Linked DNA regions of Homo sapiens: regions 1, 2, 3, 4 and 5 are each linked to region 6. Evidence: promoter capture Hi-C in 16 types of primary human blood cells and fetal thymus (Javierre and others, 2016). All regions are on one chromosome and are shown on one strand. Each heading gives the region's core, a stretch centred on a gene start or on the middle of the fragment in contact. The rest is flanking DNA. Distances are from core to core; before and after follow the strand shown. Region 1 overlaps PKP4-AS1 (PKP4 antisense RNA 1). Region 2 overlaps PKP4-AS1 (PKP4 antisense RNA 1). Region 3 overlaps DAPL1 (death associated protein like 1). Region 4 has its middle 19 kb from the start of DAPL1. Region 5 has its middle 26 kb from the start of PKP4-AS1. Region 6 holds the start of CCDC148-AS1 (CCDC148 antisense RNA 1).

Evidence for each region. The method cuts DNA at HindIII sites, captures the fragments that hold promoters and counts their contacts. A CHiCAGO score of 5 or more calls a contact.
Region 1: a contact is called between a fragment that was not itself captured here and the fragment with the promoter of CCDC148-AS1 in region 6, in 9 of 17 cell types (endothelial precursors, naive CD8 T cells, M1 macrophages and 6 more). The highest score is 7.8, in endothelial precursors.
Region 2: a fragment that was not itself captured here is called in contact with the fragment with the promoter of CCDC148-AS1 in region 6 in 9 of 17 cell types (endothelial precursors, naive B cells, M0 macrophages and 6 more); the score reaches 9.9 in endothelial precursors.
Region 3: a fragment that was not itself captured here is called in contact with the fragment with the promoter of CCDC148-AS1 in region 6 in 2 of 17 cell types (endothelial precursors and erythroblasts); the score reaches 8.5 in endothelial precursors.
Region 4: a contact is called between a fragment that was not itself captured here and the fragment with the promoter of CCDC148-AS1 in region 6, in 5 of 17 cell types (endothelial precursors, megakaryocytes, naive CD4 T cells and 2 more). The highest score is 9.8, in endothelial precursors.
Region 5: a contact is called between a fragment that was not itself captured here and the fragment with the promoter of CCDC148-AS1 in region 6, in 14 of 17 cell types (endothelial precursors, naive B cells, total B cells and 11 more). The highest score is 15.0, in endothelial precursors.

The regions. Positions count from the first base shown.
Region 1 is chr2:158,717,867-158,721,291 of GRCh38, reverse strand. All of the region lies in intron 1 of PKP4-AS1 (PKP4 antisense RNA 1), which reads left to right. Among named protein-coding and RNA genes, the nearest start is that of PKP4-AS1, 15 kb to the left of the region's middle. The HindIII fragment of the contact is 2,469 bases long and covers 398-2,866 here.
Region 2 is chr2:158,687,718-158,691,169 of GRCh38, reverse strand. The region is part of intron 1 of PKP4-AS1 (PKP4 antisense RNA 1); the gene reads left to right. Among named protein-coding and RNA genes, the nearest start is that of PKP4-AS1, 46 kb to the left of the region's middle. The HindIII fragment of the contact is 2,492 bases long and covers 550-3,041 here.
Region 3 is chr2:158,802,120-158,805,310 of GRCh38, reverse strand. It overlaps DAPL1 (death associated protein like 1), which reads right to left. Exons shown (of 4, transcript NM_001017920.3): 2 at 942-1,029. Among named protein-coding and RNA genes, the nearest start is that of DAPL1, 8.4 kb to the right of the region's middle. The HindIII fragment of the contact is 676 bases long and covers 1,463-2,138 here.
Region 4 is chr2:158,775,248-158,778,207 of GRCh38, reverse strand. No RefSeq gene overlaps it. Among named protein-coding and RNA genes, the nearest start is that of DAPL1, 19 kb to the left of the region's middle. The HindIII fragment of the contact is 384 bases long and covers 1,171-1,554 here.
Region 5 is chr2:158,759,151-158,762,279 of GRCh38, reverse strand. No RefSeq gene overlaps it. Among named protein-coding and RNA genes, the nearest start is that of PKP4-AS1, 26 kb to the right of the region's middle. The HindIII fragment of the contact is 3,967 bases long and covers 1-3,129 here.
Region 6 is chr2:158,165,329-158,168,369 of GRCh38, reverse strand. CCDC148-AS1 (CCDC148 antisense RNA 1) reads right to left here and starts at 1,720. Exons shown (of 5, transcript NR_038850.1): 1 at 1,647-1,720. The HindIII fragment of the contact is 5,438 bases long and covers 1-2,100 here.

The sequences.
Region 1 (3,425 bases), core at 383-2,882, 550 kb before region 6:
AAACCTTGAGATGTTGATTGGACCCTCGGCCTTCCTGCATTCCATGCTATAAATCAAGCAGAAGCACAGAATTGCTCCAGGTGTGAGCAGCTGATCCCCTGCATCAGAAGCACTTGGGGGAGGGTGGAGATGAAAGACTTTTAAAAATGCAGATTCCTAGGTTCTACTGTCTGCTGTGTCAGGTTAGGGCCAGGGAAGCTGTATTTTTAACATGTGCACCAGAAGATTGGTATATGCGCTAAAGTTTGAGAACTTGTAGTTTGAGACCTGGTGGGTTACTCTTCCCAAATGAAATGTGTGGTTATGTGCATCTTCTGGATATAATCCCTTAACCTGAAGAGATGACCTTCTTGGCAGGGGTGTCAGGCATGGGGGGTGAGGCAGGTCTCTCTAAGCTTTCAAATCACGTGGTAGACAGTGTGGAAAGATGAGAGAAAACATCTGTTACTTTAAAAGTCGAGTGCGATTTTTTTCATTGGTCTGGGAGGAAGATAATTGTTCCCAGAGGTTGAGTGGCCCTATTGTTTGGGAAAAATGACAGGAGCCCTGCTACTGCTGAGAGATCAGGTTCTGGGCCTGAGCTGGATGAGTAAAGATGAAACAAAGGAAGGCTAAATTGCTCTTGGAAATGAAGAAATGTTGAAGGTTTTTGGTGTCCAGGATGTAGATGAGTTGAGAAGCTAGAAGATCAGACCAGCAGGAGATGACAGAGTCGTCTAGAGGCAGCTCTGAGGGGGTCATGGGGCCCAGTGGCATGGCCTAAGGCTGGAACATATGGAAGACGGGACCAGAGAGGAAGCCTCCCTGGGAAGCAGAGGCAGCCTAAAACTAGAAGTGATGTCTGCCTGATCATGAATTTACCTTGTAGTCTATGCTGTAATGACCCTCTTTTGGCCACCAAACCTTCAGTAAAATCTGTTATGTGTAGCTTGTGTACAAAGACCCTTGCAGAAAAGAGATTTTGTGCCATAGCAGAACATCCCAAGAAAGGGGAGACGGGGGCATTGCAGGAATTGTGGTCCAGCGAGGAAGCAGACTCTAGGCAAGGACCGACCAGAAGAATGTGAGCTCTTACTGCTACAAATGCATGGATACATTCAGGGATGCTAGACCTCCTGCACCAGGAATGGGGACTTTTCTCAATACCAATACCATTTTATTTGGTATTGAAGAAAAGGGGGGTCCAGAAGGATGGAGAACCTTTGGAAAGGATGGTTACACATAGGCAGAAACTGACTAGTCTCTCTAGGGAGCTGGCTCCATGGAAGTCACCTAACTCCATGCCTGTGCCTTTCAGCACCTTTTTAGGTGAGTGGGTCCCTTAGCTCATCACTGAATTGAGTTTTCAGACATCACAGCTGGAGGATCTTTGGTGAGAGTCTCTCTGATAGAAGGTGGGTGGTGTGTGTGTGAAACAGAAGGTTCATCCAATTACTGATGGGCTAATAAAAACTTTCAATGTTCTGAAGGTGGAGATGAATAAAAAACACAAACTTTTCTTTTTGATATTTTTCCTACATTCTCCTAAGCCAAATGCTCAAGCATGTGGAATTTAAATAATTGTTTTTAAGTCAAATCAATTTTGGAACCGAGAGAGTTGGAGGTTTATAGACTCCTCGGTCACTGGCGGATTGCTGATTAATGACGCTGGTGTCTGTAATTATACTGCTGTCAGGAGGCTGAGTGTCCTCGATAAATCCAGGCCCATCTGCCTTCCCAAGACACCAGGAAAGGAGTGTCTTGATTTATGCCCTGATTGGCACATATTCTCTTTACTGTACCTTAGAGAACTCTCAACTACATAATGGTTTGAGAGGTCAATTTTCATCTTGCTTGTATTGAGCAACCTAGAATTTAAGTGTCCTTGCCCATGATTGTGAGGACATAAATTGGGTTTTTCTTCTCATTGCTCTTTTCGTTCATTTTTCTCTAACTTACCTCTTTCATATGAAAAACTGGGTGTGGTAGATCACAAAAATTCAGAAAGGGGTGACAATTCCCACCCCTCTCTGAATCCATGCCCTTTAAACGTGGCTTCACCACTCTTCCCATCAAGAGACAGAGTCTATTTTTCCATCCCTTAAATCTGAGCGGGCCTTGTGACTTGCTTTGGCCAATAGAATGTAGTGAAAGTAACAATGTGCCAGTTTCAAAAAGCCCCGCGGCCTTTTGCTCTTCTCCCTGTAAGAACTCTGCCAGGCCTTGCTGCTGGTTGATGACGGACACGTGGTCCATCTCTCCCCACCACCTCCATAAGTAGAAGCAGTGCCTACATGGCCTGTGGCTGGGCCCAGTGGAGACCAGAAGAACCCCCCAGGCAGAGCTTGGCTTAAACAGCCTGATTGCTGAATCATGGGCTAAATGAATTGTGGTTTTAAGTTTGGTTTGCTGTGCAGCATTATTGTGGCAATAAATAACTGATCCCCTGGGTACCTACTGTATACTACTGCTGTTCTAGAGTTTGGAGCCACAGAGAATCAGAGATACAGAGGTGGATAATGCATAGTTCTGGCCCTTGAGGAGCTCACAGTCTGTGGAGGCAGACAGCCCCAACAAACATGCCATTCTAATGGGAAGTGACAATGGGGACAATTTTTCTTGAACATTATCTATGTGCTGGACATGATGACAGGCATTTTATCTACATTATCATCCCACTTAGTCTTTGCTGTAAGGCTATGAAGCAGACGCTATTATTGGCACATTTTATAGGCAAGAATACTGAGAACCATGGAGGTTAGGGCAGGACCTGATTCCAATCAGCCCCTGGTTTCTGCCAGCCCCTGATGCCCCTCTGTAACAGGCATAAAGCATTAAGGAGTCAGAGGAAGGGGAAGCTGGCACTCAGGGGGTAGGGGCAAAAGCTTCACTGGGACCTGGCCAGTGGGGGAGACTGGAAGCCTGAGGTCATGGGCTCCCAAATCAATCCAGGGGTGAGCTGTTGTGATCTTGAGCTGGAGAAGCTGATAGGATACATTTGGATGGAGACTCTGCTGGGGAACCTGGAAATAGCACCAGCTATTTTTAGGGTGCAGGCTGAAAAAGACAGGACATAATCCTCAGGAACTAGGGTGCATAAGGACAGGAGGAATTTTGTGTTCCCCATGACAAGCAGCATTTCTCTACTGCAGAGTATTCAACACCAGACAATGCCTGATTGGGAATTTCCGCATGGATTGTATTTTTTAAAAAACACATCATAATTAATAGGAAATTCAGTTTTTTTCCTCTATTGTTTTATCTGCAATGCCCTTTTAAGATGTTTGTTTTTAAATGGGTTATCTAGCTTCCTTCTGATGGCTCGTCTGGCTGAAGTGATTCCACATGATGCTGCGACCTGTGTGATGGGTCAGTCCCGGGAGCTACGCTCCACTCTAACCGACATCTCCTTCCCTCCTTCCACATAGAGGGGCATGGAACAGACA
Region 2 (3,452 bases), core at 546-3,045, 520 kb before region 6:
AATCCCAGAACTTAAAGTATAAGAAAAAAACAAACAAAAGAATAGGGCATCCATGCTTACTCTCCCAAGAGACAAGGCTGCCAAGAGGAGCTCCTGTCCCTCTTTCCCTGTGCTCCCCAGCAGAGGGCCATTGCTGATCTGATAGGTGACAGCCTGACACTGCACTGTCACTTGGGGTGGGCTTTCTAACCTCCCTTTACTGGGTTTCCTCACCTGAAGAATGGAGTTGACAATAGCGCTTTCCTCTTTACCTCCCAGTGAGGTCATTTGCCAGAGGATCTTGCTCAGTGCTTGAGGTGGAAGCATGGACAGCTGATGGTGGTGGTGTTATTTCTTGGGCCATGTTTCATCCCTGGGCACTGGGCTGAAGGCTGGCCACCCTCTTGGGTTTTGTTCCCATGTGTAAGCACATGACTGGGTGGGGAGGTTAGCTCACACCTCACTGGATTTGGCTGTCCGAAGTTCCATCTGGGGAAGGGAGGAGAGAAGTGGGAAAACCAACTTCAACCTCAGGTTCAGCCATGTTCTCCAAAGAACTTGCTTGAAGCTTTGTCCCTTGGGGTGATGGGTGCTGGCCCAGGCTAACCTGGTGGGACTTCTGCCCTCAGTGTGTGTTAGCCCTGAGGCACTGGTGACAGCCCCTTCTTATCTACTCCCGTGAAAGAGTCCTATTTCACATATTGAGATTCAGTTTGGTCCAGAAGTTTGGATGTGCTGGGGTTTCTGAAGGCCCAGACATACCTTAGGGCTGAGACCAGAACTGCAGAGGAATACACCCAGGGGTCACGTGGATTAGAACACTATCAGCTTTCTCACTCCTGAGGTGGATTTGGGAACTATAGCTTGAACCAGAACAAAAATCAGTCTTCTATAGATACCTGGGTTAACTGAACTCACCCAACCAAAACTTGAGGCCTCCGTGCAGTGCAGCACCAGCCAGGATAGTCTGCCCTGCGAGGGAGGCCAGATGCTCCGGCCCTTTGCTGGGCAGCTGGGCTCCTTGAGCTTACTTTGTTTCTCCTAGTCTCATGAGATGATCCCTCCTTTGCCCCTGAAGAAGAGTGAGGAGTGAACAGTGAAGACAAAGATACAAGGTTTCATTCCACATCTTCCAGAATGTCTGTGCTTCCCTTTTTATAGACTTGCAGGGCTATGAGTGAGTCCTTATTGGAGATGGTCTTTGGTGGTAGGGCCCTTCCCTCCCTTTGAGGCAACAGCCCTTTCCCAGCTGAACTGCCTGGCCTCCTGCCCCTGCTCCTGCCCAGCAGAGTTGCTCCTTGAGGCTAAGCGAGGTTGGAGGGGTGGGGAGGTGCAGTGGGATTGGCCCGTACAGGGGAGGGCCTCTCTTCTGGGTTCTTTTGATTCCATGAAGTGTTTAGTCACAGGTCTGGACTCGGAGCATATTTTGTGAACAGGCCATTTGATAGTTTTCTTTTCGAAGGCATCAACTTTGATTTGCGCCAACATGCTATTTTCCTAGTAATCTTTGCTAAGGCAACGTTAAAATGGATTTGTATTATTTGAGCCTAATTTGGCTGGGAAGCTGGTAGGAAGCTGGAGGGGGATTCCTGGCTGGGAGAGGGTTTGTCACAAGGGTTGACTTTAGCATAAACATCAAGGCTGGAGGGGACGGCTGTTCTGCTTCCTTAGGGAGGCAGGAACAGCTAATGGGGTCTCTGGAATCCAACAGATTCATCTGGCAATCCCCAATTGAGGTGACCTTGGGCCACTTTATAGTTCTGAGGACAGTTTTCTCTTGGACATTGTTTTAGGGTTGTTATGAAGATTAAATGGGATAATGTGGTTAAAGCATACAGTACTGTCCTTGATATCTTACATCCTAGCAAATACTCATCAAAAGATTATTATTATTATTTTTAGGAGTGATCAAAAGGCTGAGATTTCTTTCATCTTCACCCCAAACCGCTGAGAGAAACTTGTTTTTTTGTTTGTTTGTTTTGTTTTGTTTTGGTTTTGTTTTTTTGTCTCTTCCTCTTGACTTTCTTCCTGTACTCACGTTCCCTGGCTTTCTCTGTAGTCTGCATCCCACCATTCTCATGTATTTCCTTTGTTTAAAGTTAACCCAAAGTTTAGCTTGAGTACATCTTGTTCTATTGGGCTTTCCTTGACAGCTCAACCCAGACTTGGTAGCTGCTAACTGCTCCGATGGACTCAGGAATGTTACAAATTCTTGGGGGCAATGGCAGACGTGTCAGCCCCAGATTACCCCACAGTGCCCAGAACATTGAAGGAAGATTGCCACAGACATACAGTGAGTCGCAGCGACTCTCATCTGGGTGGCTGAGGGAGGCAGCTGCTGCCTCAGCCTACATGGCTTGCCAGTCAGGAGCACACAGAGCTGTCTCTAGGGAGCTACTTTTTAAGGTCAGGTGTTGGCCATACATGGTTTATCATTATTTTTGTTTTTAGCTATATAACCTTTGCTAAAATGATCTCAGGTGGACATGGAATATAGAAAGCAGCGCACAGTGGGCTGCTCTTGGTGCAGTGGGGAGAGGCACCTGGCATCCCTCCCCTTGACTTTCGCACTTCTGTGGACTCCCCATGGCTCTACCCCATGGAGATTGGAAGCTACCAGGAGGGTGGGGCTTCTGACCATAGATTGCTGATGGTTACTGGCTTTCCGTGGTTAACTTTTACACTATGACATGGAGCCTGACTGCTGAGGACTCCTACCTCTAGGACAACTTGAGCTTGAGAAGTTTCATCCAACCTTACTTATCTTTCATGCCTAGGAGCCCTGGGTACTATGGCTTCTGCCCAAGCATGGGAATAATACAACACGTCTCCAGCTTGGAGCATACATTCATAGGAACCGAAGAAATAAAAGTGCAGAGGTCATCTATCATCTTGGGCAGAGACTGAGAGTGACTTCCTCCTATCCACCCCCTCCTTTTCCTTACTAACACAACCTACATGAGTAGAGGTGGCAATAGGACCTGGTAAAGATTCCTTTTCCAAGTGTCTCTTATAGATAGGAATGGCCAATGAGATGTATGGGCAGGGATTCAAGGAAAGCTTTTTTAGGGGTTTTGACTCAATTGCCAAGCTCCACTTTCCCAACTCCTTTCTCTTTGTTGAGGAATGAGGATGTGATGGTTGGAGCTCCAGCAGCTAGCCAGGAAGCCATGAGGATGAGGGTCCTACCCAAAGAGTAGGATAAAGCTTACTTTATGCCATGAGGGCATTTGTGGAACCCCATACTAGGAAGACAGACATTAGACTTTCTGTGGTCATCTCTTTATGTGGTAGAGGAAAAAACTACAAATAAAACCTCTTACAACTTGTCTTGTTGAAGCCTCAATTTTGGAATTTTTTTTTTTTTTTTTACTGCCAGCCAAATGCAGTTTCTCAGTGATGATATATCATCACCACACTCACTGATGTGGCCTCAGAGGACAATATTTGTAGCTTCAGGTGGTTTAGCATCA
Region 3 (3,191 bases), core at 551-3,050, 640 kb before region 6:
GAATCAGTATTTCATTCTAAAGTGGAGGGAGGCAAATCCTCAAAAAATGTCTTCCCAGAAATTAGGAAGCAATCTTTAAAAGTGATTTAAAAATAATTTTATAGAAAAGAGTCAAAGAAGTGCCACAGTCTATTTCCATTCTCTTTCTGATATGGTTTAACTCTTATGGAGGTGCCTGGAGCATCCTCTACTCAGATCCTTTTGAATTACTCATCAACTGATCTGTGGAAACCATTTCAAAATTAATAGTCTCTGAAGCACTCCTCAGAAAGAAACAGTTCTGCGTGTTTCTTGTTTTTTGGAATGCTCTGGTTTTCCTTACCCAAGGCCTAGACTGGTTGGGCCATTTGCTTACCTGATCCAGCCCACAGCTCTCTGCTGAGTTCTGAGAATAGGGCAGGCGTCAATGTTATGGTGGAAGGAGCAGCGGGGAGGCTGCTCGGTACCTATGTGTTTCTGGCTATGCCAAATATAGTGGCCATTACTTTCTAAATAATTCAGTGATGGGTTTAAAACAAAAAAGACATTTATTTTTAATTCAGGACATTTACTTCAGCAGAAAGCATATTATGAAAACAGGGCCAGCCTAGGAACAATATTTTAAAGGCTGATCTGAAAATAGGATAAAAGGATGTGTGTCAGGTTTGGATGCATTTAGGCCTGTGCCTATTAAGTGCAAGGCCGCTGGGCTGGATGCAGACAGGAGGAGAATGGGTGGGGGTCGTGATGGGAGCCCTCTCAGAGGGATCCCTCCAGAGGGTAGCCACCTACCTTTCCCCACCCCTCACCCTAAGTCACCACGGATCACGCCCTCCCCCTCCTGCCCCCTTCTCTGGCTGCCTCCAAAGGCATAGGGAGCCTTGGTTTGTCCTAAAATAACTCCTGGAGGCAGAGTCACTCAAAACTCCTCAAGGTGATGGAGAAAAATTAAGAGTCCCTACCTTGTTTTCTCGAATCCTGTTTTTTTGGTATGTCTTTCCAAGGTGCCAATTTCTTGTTTTTTGGAAATTCTCATTCCTCCAGCTTTTACTACAAACAGATAAAAATCAGCATGGAAGTTAGAACAGTGAGAGAAGGCTTGCTTTGTTATTAAAGGTATGACTTTAGATTTGAAAATAATTTTTGAACTTATTTTTTAAAGATCTAAACGTTTGTATAAAACAACACAATAAAAAATATATATATTTTATTGGCAAACCAGGTGTGGGTGGAGGAAGGGCTGAGAGCTACTTGTTTATGCTCAGAGAAGTGGAACCAAGACTGAAAAAGCAGAGGTTACACCTTAGATTTGGGGAGGAGAATAACAACATACTCCCTTAGGCATTTCACTGAAAAACATTTTTTCTTATTATCAAACCAATTACATTCCCCACAATAGCAACCGACAATTACAACGTGACCCTCTGTTTTCCCACCAGATTAAAGTTGTGCGTGGCTTGCATTTTTTTTTCCAACCAAAGCTTTCAAAAGCCAGATTCTGAGAGATGAGCCAAAAGTCAGGGCACACAGTGATAAAAGGCATTTAATTCAACAGAGATGGTTCTGATTCTACCAGATACCCACCTTCCATCCAGACCCCAAAACTCCGGTGTTGGCCAAGCTCAGATGTTCTAATGAGTAATTAAACTGCATTAATAATCCTGCCATTCAAGTGATCAATTAGTGTTAATTAGGCTACAGATGACCTAACAGCAATTCAAGTGTTTAACAATGTCAGATGAAATCAACTTTTGAAAAGGAACAACCCATTTCAAGATAGCAAGTCAAAGCAAATGCTTTTTTTCTGTTCCCAGGAAATTTGCACATCTAAAATCTGACAAGCTCAAATGAGAAAAAGCTAAATGGACATTGATTTGTTTGAGCCTGTTAATTCTTTTTATGAAAATGCCAGATTGGCGATTTTCTAAAACTGTGGTCCAATAAAGTGAAAAATAAAGAAAATGTATTCTATTTTTCTGTGCCCTTGTCAACTGACTTCATCATTGTTCTTTACAATTATTACTTAATTTATTGTCTTGGTTATCTTATCTGCATAAGGCCCAAAATTCAAAAGCCATAAAAAGGTCTGCAGTCTCCCTCCTACAATTATTTTCCAACTTCCTAGATTATCTCCCAAGATACTGCTAATGTTATAAGCTTCCTGTGTCTTCATCCACAGTTATTCTACACATACACTCAGGTTTTATTTTTTATAAAATGGTAGCCTAAGGTACACATTGCTCTACATCTTGTTTATTTTCTTCACTTAATCACATATTTTAGAGAAAGTTCCAAATCTATATTTACATCTACATCTATATCTCTATATATCATCTGTGTGTTTTTCTTTTTAACATCTGCTTTAACATTTTATTGTATGAACATCCTGTGTTTACTTAACCAGTTCCCTAATGTTGGACATTTCATGTGTTTCTAATCTACTGCTATCACAAACAATGCTGCAATGAATATCCTTTTGCTACCAGAAAGAGGTGTCTTGATCCAGAATCCAAAAAAAGGTTCTTGGATCTTGCACAGGAAGAAATTCAAGGCGAGGCACAGAGCTCAGTGAAATAAGCAAGTTTATTAGAAACAATTCCATTACAGAGTAGGGTGTCCTCAGAAAGTGAGTGCACAAACACACTGTTTTTCAGTTTTTCTTATATAGGGGTCTTGTCTATGTAAAGACTAAACTGTGACTACATGCAGGTGAGCAGACAACATGACAAGATTTATTATTCTACTGATGTAAAGAAAACCATCCTTGACGATTTGGTGTGTGAGTACATCAAAGCATAACTGTTACTATCTTGAAAGCATTATCATTATGGGTATTGGCCCATCTGGACTTTCTGTGGTTCTAAGAGTTTGTTCTTGCAGGCATTACCAAGCTGCTTCCTCAGCTGTAAACATCTTAGCATCATGGGGTTGTGACTAGCAAGGAATGTGCCTCGCTCATTCTAAGATGGAGGTGATTTTCAAATGATGTCACTCTGGCTCTTTTAGGTTCTTGCTCTCCTAACAGTTTTAGATACATAATTTTGCACAAATACAAGCATACCTGTTGGGGAAATTCCTAAAAGTGATCTTGTTAGTTCTTAAGAGTATGCGTGTTTGGAATTTTGTTAAATCTTGCCAAATTGCCCTTAGCAGAGGTTGCACCAGTTTAGAATCTCACCAGCCATGATGACAGTTGTTGTTCCTCCATACCC
Region 4 (2,960 bases), core at 113-2,612, 610 kb before region 6:
GGAAATCAAAATAATCTTTTAAAAACATACGGTAATATCTGCTCCTGTTCTCACCTTGGGTTAAGCAAAAAAGGAAAAGGAAATTTGATCTGAATATTCCAGGAAAAAATAGACTTTAAACTCTGCCTAAAAAATGTCACAACAATTTGATGATGTGGTCAACATTGTGCAAAAGAATGAAAATTTATAAAAAGTGAGTCCCTATGCAATAATCTTAGTTGCTTTTCTTTTTATAGTGAAACATGTTTTTAAAATTACTCTAGTATTAAATATACACTGCACCTTTGTTGAAAGGTGCAGTGCTTTGAAAGTACACTGCTCATTGCTGAAATCCTGCCAGAATTAAAAAATGAGGCAGAAGAATAGCATTTTGGGTCAGGCATTGATCACAGCAAGAGGATGGAAAACAGCGAGTAGTAATAATAGTAACAATATGGAAGCAGAGTGACGGACCCCCAGGGCAAGAAGAGCCAAGTAGAGGTCAATTAGCCCATCTGACTCGTTTAACTGTATTTTGGATGACAGTATTATTCTGCAATACAGTACCTCCACATTTCTTTTCCATAAGCGCATACAAGATGGACACAATTCAATAGTCCCCCTTATCCTAGGGGAATATGCTCCAAGATCCCGAGTAGTTGCCTGAAACCTTGGATAGTACTGAATCCTATATATACTATGTTTAAAAAAAATACATACATACCTATGATAAAGTTTAATTAATAAATTAGGTACAGTAAGAGATGAACAACAATAACCAATAATAAAATAGAACAATTATAATATTGTACCAGCATCCCCACTTTTGTGTTTTGGGCCATTACTAAGTAAAATAAGGGTTCCTTGAACACAAGCACTGTGATAACATGAAAACCACGAGGGCTACTAAGTGACTAATAGACAACTGGCCACTTGAATACAGCATGGAGATGCTGGACAAAGGGAGGTTGCATGTCCCAAGTGGGATGAAGTGGGACGGCCAGAGATTTCATCACGTTACTCAGAATGGGGCACAACTTAAAATTTATGAATTTATTTCTGGAATTTTCCATTTAATATTTTCAGACTGCAGTTGACTGAGAGTAACTGAAACCATGAAAAGTGAAACCATGGATAAGGAGGGGACTTCTGTACCATCTGTTCTAAAAATATAACCAAAAGCTCAAAGCTTCAATTAAAAGAAAAGCCACTCTCGTTGGGGCTTAACTCTGTAAATCTGAGCATAGTAATTTAAGAGACAGGATTGCACATAGGTTTTCATGTCTGAGGGAGCTGGATTTGAATACTGTCCTCACCTCTTCTTAGCTAGCGGTAAGTGTTGGGGGATGATTCTCCATGGGTTTCTCACATTTCTGCTCTTCTTGTGTCAGCTTTTGTATCAGAGAATCTATTCAAGGATGTTTGTATAGTGAATAGTCTTCAAAGATACAATGTCTCCTTCCAGGTCAGGGAGCAGATGTGTTTGCTAGATCATAAAATTAATGGCATTTTTGGGGAAAAAATTTGGGTGAGTTTACTAGCAGCCCTTTTACAAGACTGGAAGTTTCCTAAGCTTGGGGTTCCTTAGCTCTCAGGCCCATTGCGTGTGTGTCATCCACCTGGACTGATCCCCATTGACTTCGTGGGACTTGGAAGGTAAGGGGAACTTGAGTGACCAACCATCCCAGTTTGCACAGGACTCTCAATGTTAAGTTGAAACAGTCCTGGGCAAAATGATCACTTTAGCTGGGAAACTGATGAGTATCTGATGCTTACACAGCTGTCTGCTATGTCATGAAAATTAAGTCCTTTGTCTCTGACCCAGGAATCATATGTCTTTTGTAAGCACACATGAAACTGGCAGCCTAACTCATTAGCTTGCAAGTAGGGTAAAGTCTCAGACACCTCACAGTTTTTGATAGTGAGATGTTTGGCAAGTCCTTCTCTAAGCCTCCATTTTCTTTACTGTTAAATGCAGATGTCAACATCTGCCTCAGAGAGTTGTGAGTAAGAAATGTACCAGTTTTTCAGAGTCCTCAGCCTGACCACTCTGCCCAGGACATAAGTCTTCAACAGATGTTGACAGTTTGTAACTATAATTCTTATTAGATATAATTGCTCTAATTCAATCATCTAACTGGTTGGGTTGGTGTGGTTTGTATATTGGTATCTTCTTCTCTGTGTCTTTACACAATGGAATGTGTCAGATTTTAAATGCCCAATTAAGTATTTTTAATCATTTTTATTACCAAGATCAGATTGATTCATGGTTGAGTCTAGTTACTGATTAAAATGTCCTTCAACTGGATAATTCAGTAACCTTATAGTTGTTGCACTTATTGCAAAGCTCTTTGTAATCTGGTAAAAACAATGTCTAATGGTGTTTAATGAATGACCTTTGACCTTCCTTAAAGCTTTCCAGGAAATCAAGTTCCAGGTAACACTCTTGAGAGATTATCTGCATGGAGTAATATGGCAGCATTTCACTTTGATCGTATAAAATAAATGTCATATACATACTCATTCATCTCAGCTGCCATGGCAAACAAAGTTGGAAAACAGCATTCCCATTTTTTTTTTGTATTTCCAAAGATTTTATGTATTTTTGTTGTTGTTGATATGTGATATATTTATGGCTCTTTTTTCTAAGAGTCAGAGACAATTTTCTTTTTTCTTTTTACATATAGAATCTTTCTCTGTTGCCTAGGCTACAGTGTAGTGGCACGATCATGACTCACTGTAACCTGGAACTCCTGGGCTCAAGAGATCCTCCCACCTCAGCCTCCTGAGTAGCTGGGACTGCAGGTGCGTGTTACCATGGCTGGCTTATTCTTGTTTTTCTTATGGAGATGGGGTCTCAATATTTTGCCCAGGCTGGCTTCCAACTCCTGGCCTCAAGTGATCCTCCCACCTCAGCTTCCCAAAGTGCTGGGATTATAGGCTTGAGCTACTACACCCAGCCGACAATTTTCTTCAGAAGA
Region 5 (3,129 bases), core at 444-2,943, 590 kb before region 6:
CTTCTGTTTTGTTTTTTTTTTTTTTCTGAGGAGGCTCTCAGGATTTATGCTCCTGATGGCCTTTCCCAGCTTGGCAGAGAGGGCACCTCAACCAGTCAGGAACCCACCTCTCACCCAAGGAAAGAAGCCAGCTCAACACAGGGATCCACCTGCCTTCAACCCTGGGATAAGCCAGCTTTAGAGCTGATTATTGACCTAGTTACTGATTCCACGCTAGCTTAGTGTGGGTGTGACAAACCTGGGTTAGTCTGGGCAAAGACTGTCGCATCCCCATGAACATGAAGGTAGTAATCCAAGGCCTGGCCTTGTTTCACAAGCGTCTTTGCAGCCAGTGACTCTCCTATTCACCATTGTGGAGCCTCCTTTCTCCTACACACATTCTCCAGACAGGTTCTTACCTGACCTGGGATGGCTGGAAGTGAGGGAAGGGGGAGGGAGGGACTCTGCCTTCAGGAAGCCACGCTCTTGCTCAGTCAGTCATTAGGAACTTGTGCTGACTTGGTTAGGAGGCATCTACTTGAAAACCACGCTGTTAAGCAATGCATGTTCACACACAGACCTTAGAAATCTATTAAGTATTGAGCTGCCCTTCTATGATTGATTAAAATGTCTGGTGCCTTTTGAAAAAATTTTACATGAAAATTAACAAGTTTCTTGTAAAAAAAAGAAAAAAAAGCAAACGCAAACGATAGAGAAAGGTGAAATGTAGAAGCTCCCCATTCCCCCTCCCCATCCCAGCTCCCCAGTGCTGGGTATGTATCCTTTCAGATAAGTTCTACGTACGCACAGGCGCACACACACACACCTTCACATACACTTAGGAAAAAAACCCAAATAGATCATATTGTGCATACAGCTATACCATGTGCCTTTATCAATTATCATATCAGTTAGATCTTTCTATGTTAATTCAGTTTTGTTTCATTTTTAAAGAAAAAGTATAACAAGAAAAGTCATCGGCTTTCTGATAGGTACATATTCAGACAAAGTTCTGTGGCTCCACTAAGCCAAGTTTAGCTGAGAATCACTGGTACAACTGACCCCAGGCTGCCAGCTCCCTGGCCACTGCTGCCTCCTCTCACCTGACCCCCCAGCCCCCATGCATATGCCCATGACAAGGACTGTGGCATCTTATCAGGTACCCATGGAGGTGCAGGCATGAACTCCTGGCAAGGGAGAGTCAGCACGTGGCCAGTTTGGCAGGGAAATGAAAAGACCAGAAGGCCTCCTGGCTCAGTAGTTACCCTGGGTTTGGCAGAAGTACTTCAAAGACTGTCTGGTTTAGTGGATGCTGATGCCATTTCTCCTTATGAATGGTCCAGCATTGGTTGCCAGGCAGAGTCTCCAACAGCTTATGATTTGTTGGTGGCCCAGACATGCTAAGGGAGTCAAATAGCTGGAGTCTTGTTTTTTTTTTTTTTTAATCCCTACCTGTGGTGTGGAGGCATTTTGCCAATTCTATTTTAGGGGTGTAGGGAATGTGGGTGTAGGTGGGGGAGCTTTGATCTTGTATGTAACAATTATAAAGGAACTTGAGCCTGACATATTCCTTCGGAAAGTCATAATTTGAACAATTTCTAGCATTTCGGAGGTTAATTCTCTTGACTAACACCCTCTCTTGTAAACTGCATCTCTGTGATGGTGACTTCTAGACCTTCCTATCTTTTGCCCCAGACGTTCTTAAATTCCTTACCTGTCAGACCTACTTCGTTCCCTGGATTCCCAGGCCTCTCAAATCTAATATGTTCAAAAGCACGACTATTATCTTCACCTAGTTCTTATTTCCATCCATTTTATCACTTAAGAGAGAAACTGCTAAAACATTCTTAATTCTTGCCTTTCCTTCCTAATTGTTGGATAAGTTCTGTTGGTTCTAGCTCAAAAATGTCTTTCAAAATTGCTCCGTTTTTTCTATCCCCTCTGCTACTGCCTCTGTTGAGACTGTCATCATTTCCCAATAAATGTTTATCAACACTACTGCATACCAAAGACACTCCTACCATCCAAGGGTTCATCATTTAATGATCCCATTTAACCTCCAGAGGGATTGTATTAAATTACAAATCTGCTTTTAACTCTTCTCTGCTCAGAAACCTACATTAGCTCCTTGTTGCCTAGGATTCAATGCAACTCCTTGGCTGGACTCGATCTTTTCATGTCATTCACTCCGTCCTGCAATCTTGCTCCCCACCATTCCCCTTAATCTCACCCTCTAGTGGGGTTCCAGTGTACCCACCAGGCCACAAGCCCTGTTTCAAAAATCCTTGTTTTTGCACATGCTGATTGCTCATATGGAACTTCTTTTTAAGATTCTGCTGAAATACGAACTCCTTTCTTCAGTCTTTACCTGCTCTCTGTATTTTCACAACACTTTGCTCAGTGCTTCAGCATGTACTTATCACCCTGTATTGCATGGTTTGCTAATACCTTGGACTCTGCAGTAGTCCCAGTTTCCAGACTGCTGGTAACCGGAAGGAAGGGACTGCATCTTCTTCATGTCGGTATCCCTCACGTTCAGCTTGATGCCTGGCACATAAAGCTAAAATAGGTGGGTACCAGACCGGTCAACTTCTGGGTCACACATCCACCCCCGTGGATAGGTAGGTGTGCAACACTGATGCAGCATTGTGAATGACTATCCCTGTGGGAATGACATAGGATGGGTGCAGTTCTTCGCAGGAAGAGGAGTGCTGGGCAGACAAAGCATCAGATGTCCACTTTAGTTGCATGTTTGTGTTAGGATAGTAGTTCCTTTTACTTGTCATTAAAAAAATAATCATTCAATTTGTCTGTTAGCTTTTATGATTGTGTAGCTGAGGTTCATGAGTGGCCCATTTTATCATATTGAAAGCAGAATAGAGGTTAAAGACAGTAGGTATTTGTCTTAGTTCACTTTCTGTAGCTATAACTGAATACCACAGACTGGGTGATTTATTTAGCTCATGGTTCTAGAGGCTGGGAAGTCTAAGATCATGGTGCTGGCATCCGGTGAGGACCTTCTTGCTGCATCCTAACAAGGCAGAGGGCATCAGATTGTGAGACAGAGCAAGTGTGCTCACTCAGGCCAATCTCTCTTCTTTTAAAGCCACCAGGTCCATCATGGGGGCCCCACCCTGATGACCTTATCTA
Region 6 (3,041 bases), core at 471-2,970:
CTTTTCTCTTGGCCTCTATGATACCAGCCTGCTTCACCTCTTGCTTCTCTGGTCATTCCTCAATTCCTTTTCTGACTCCTCCATCTCTATCCATCTCCAGATGTTGAAGTGCTCCAGGATTAGACCCTTTAACTCTATCTTTTTAATTGTATTATCCAAGGGGACATCCTTCAATGCTGTACTTTAGTTTTAGCTTTAAATTATGTCTTTTAAGTGTTTTTTAATCTACAGGCTTCCCCCTCCATCCATTTTCCCTGTTTGCATTTTATTTATTGAAGAAACAAAGAAATTTATATGCAGAATTCCCTATGCTGGATTTTGTTGACTTTATCTTTTTGGTGTACTAATAGTTTAATGTATTCCTCTCTCCTTTGTTCTTTGTGTTTGCCATAAATTGGTAGTTGACCCAGAGGCTTTATCAGACATAAGACTCAGGTCGTTCTCTTCTTTTCTTTTTTCCAAGGCTACTTTATTGTGGTGGTGTGTTCCCCCAGCAGGATATGCATGTTATCGGATGGAACTTCTTTTTGCAATTTTTGCTGCCACTAATTCTCAATGCCTAAGTCCATTAATTACTTACAGATTGCATGGTAGAGATATATTCAAATTCAATCACTCTTTCCTTTGTTACTGGAAAAATTACATAAAGAAAAAAATTTTCCTCTTCTGGTATTTGATAGTATAAGAGGAGTAGGCTAAGTGTTTGAGTTTTTTTTTTAACCTAACAGTTTTACAAATAATGAATTTATTCTTTGACATCCTGCAAAGGTGATCAATTTTGTTGTATCTTTATGAAGTTATGAATTTAAATGTATTTGATCATTTACTCTATTAAAGTGTTATCCTTATTGATGCTCCATTTATTCCCCCTTTGCCTAATGGAAACCTTTTCAGTTTGGCTTATGAATTCTATTCAGATAGCCTAATAGACTTGGTAACTTCCTTGCTATTCCAGTTATCTATTGCTATGCAGTAAAACTTAGTGGTTCAAACTTCATTTTTAAAAATTATTTCTCATGTTTCTATGAGTCGACTGGGCTCTACTGGGTAGTTCTCACTTGGGGCCTATATTAATTTCCTATCACTGCTGTAACAAATTACCACAAATTTAATGGTTTAAACAATGTAAATCTATCTTATAGTTTTGGAAGGTCAAAAATCAGAATTTAATCTCATTGGGCTAAAATCACAGTGTTGACAGGGCTGTATTCCTTTCTCAGGGCTCTAGGAGATAATCGGTTTCTTTGCCTTCTCCAGCTTCTAGAAGCTGCCTATAGTCCTTAGCTCATGCTGTCTTTCTTTTATCTTCAAAGCTAGCAGTGGCAGGCCTAATCCTTCTGACATCCCAGCACTCCACACTCCTCTTTTGCCTCCCTCTTCCACTGCTCAGAACTCTTGTGATCACATTAAGCCCACTCTGATAATTCAGAATAATCTCCCTATTTTAAGGTCAGGTGATTAGCGATCAGAATACCCTTTGCCATGTAACATAACATTCACAGATTATGGAGATTAGGAAATTGACATCTTTGGGAGACATTTTCTGCCTACCACGGGGTATATTATAAATTTGTAGTCAATTGCTAGTTGAGGACGTAGTCATCCAAAAGCTCAACTTGGCTGAATGACCAAGAGGACTCACTTACCTGACTGGCAGTTGATGCTGGTTGTTGGCTGGCAGCTCATTTGAGGTTGTCAATGGGACCGACCACCTACACATGACTTCTCAAGATGGCTTGGCTTTTCATAGAATGGTAGCTGGGTTCCAAGATAGAATTTTCCAAGAGCAAACATTCTAAGAGGTATAAAATGCAAGCTGCTAGACCAGTTAAGATCTACTGCTGGAACTGGGATAGGGTCTTTTCCTCCATACTCTTTTCATCAAAGCAGTCATAGAACTCTCCCAGATTAAAAAAGGCTGAGAAAAAGTCCACTTATTGATGGCAAGGTCACATTGGAAAAAAGTATGTGAAATAGGAAATATTTTTGCAGCCACTTTTTGAAATCTGTCATGTTTGTTATCGGGCATAACAAGATGTTTTAAGCTCATTTTGAATATTTCTTGCTCTGACCTGGAACTAACCTTTTCTCTGAGAAGCTTTGGTTCTTTTTATTGGAAAATCGTATTTCAAAACCAAAATTTGGAGACAAAGAATACACATTGCTACTAGGTTGATCTTCTATTCTAGACCTTTTCAATGAGCATGGTTAGAAAATACACACACACACACACACACACACACACACACTCCCATACATATGCATATACATACACATATACATATACATGTACAGACATATATACAAAACAGGCCAAGTGCAGTGGCTCACACCTGTAATCCCAGCACTTTGGGAGGCCAAGGCAGGTGGATCGCTTGAGGCTAGAAGTTCAAGACCAGCATGGCCAACATGGTGAAACCCTGTCTCTACTAAAAATATGAAAATTAATAAGGTGTGGTCGAGAGCGCCTGTAATTCCAGCTATTCAGTAGGCTGAGGCACAAGAATCACTTGAACCCAGGAGGCAGAGGGTGCAGTGAGACGAAATCGTGCCACTGCACTCCAGCCTAGGTGAGAGAACAAGACTCCGCCTCAAAAACAAACAAAAAAAACCCAACAAATCCAGACATACGCTTATATTATCTAAAGATAAAATTTTTTTTTATTTATTCTGTTACTTCAAATTCCATAGGATTTTCACTTGATATCTTGTATGTTACTTTTGTATTTTCTTTTTTCCTTACTGACAATTCTGGTGCCCAATTACACACGGATGTTAGAATATGACATAATTACTCATTTACATTATCCACACAAAAGTCTTAGAATAAAATACCAATATAATAAAAACAAAAATAATAAAATTTGGGGTTATTATGCCTTTTCTATTCTTTTTCTTTTTGTTATCTATATTGCGAGGGACTGTGTAGACATTATACACACTCTCTTTTATCCATGATTGAATCTTATTCTATTAGTAAATATATATTTACCAATACTGCCAGTTTTTAATGTCAATTTCTCTCTTGTCATTTAGGTTGT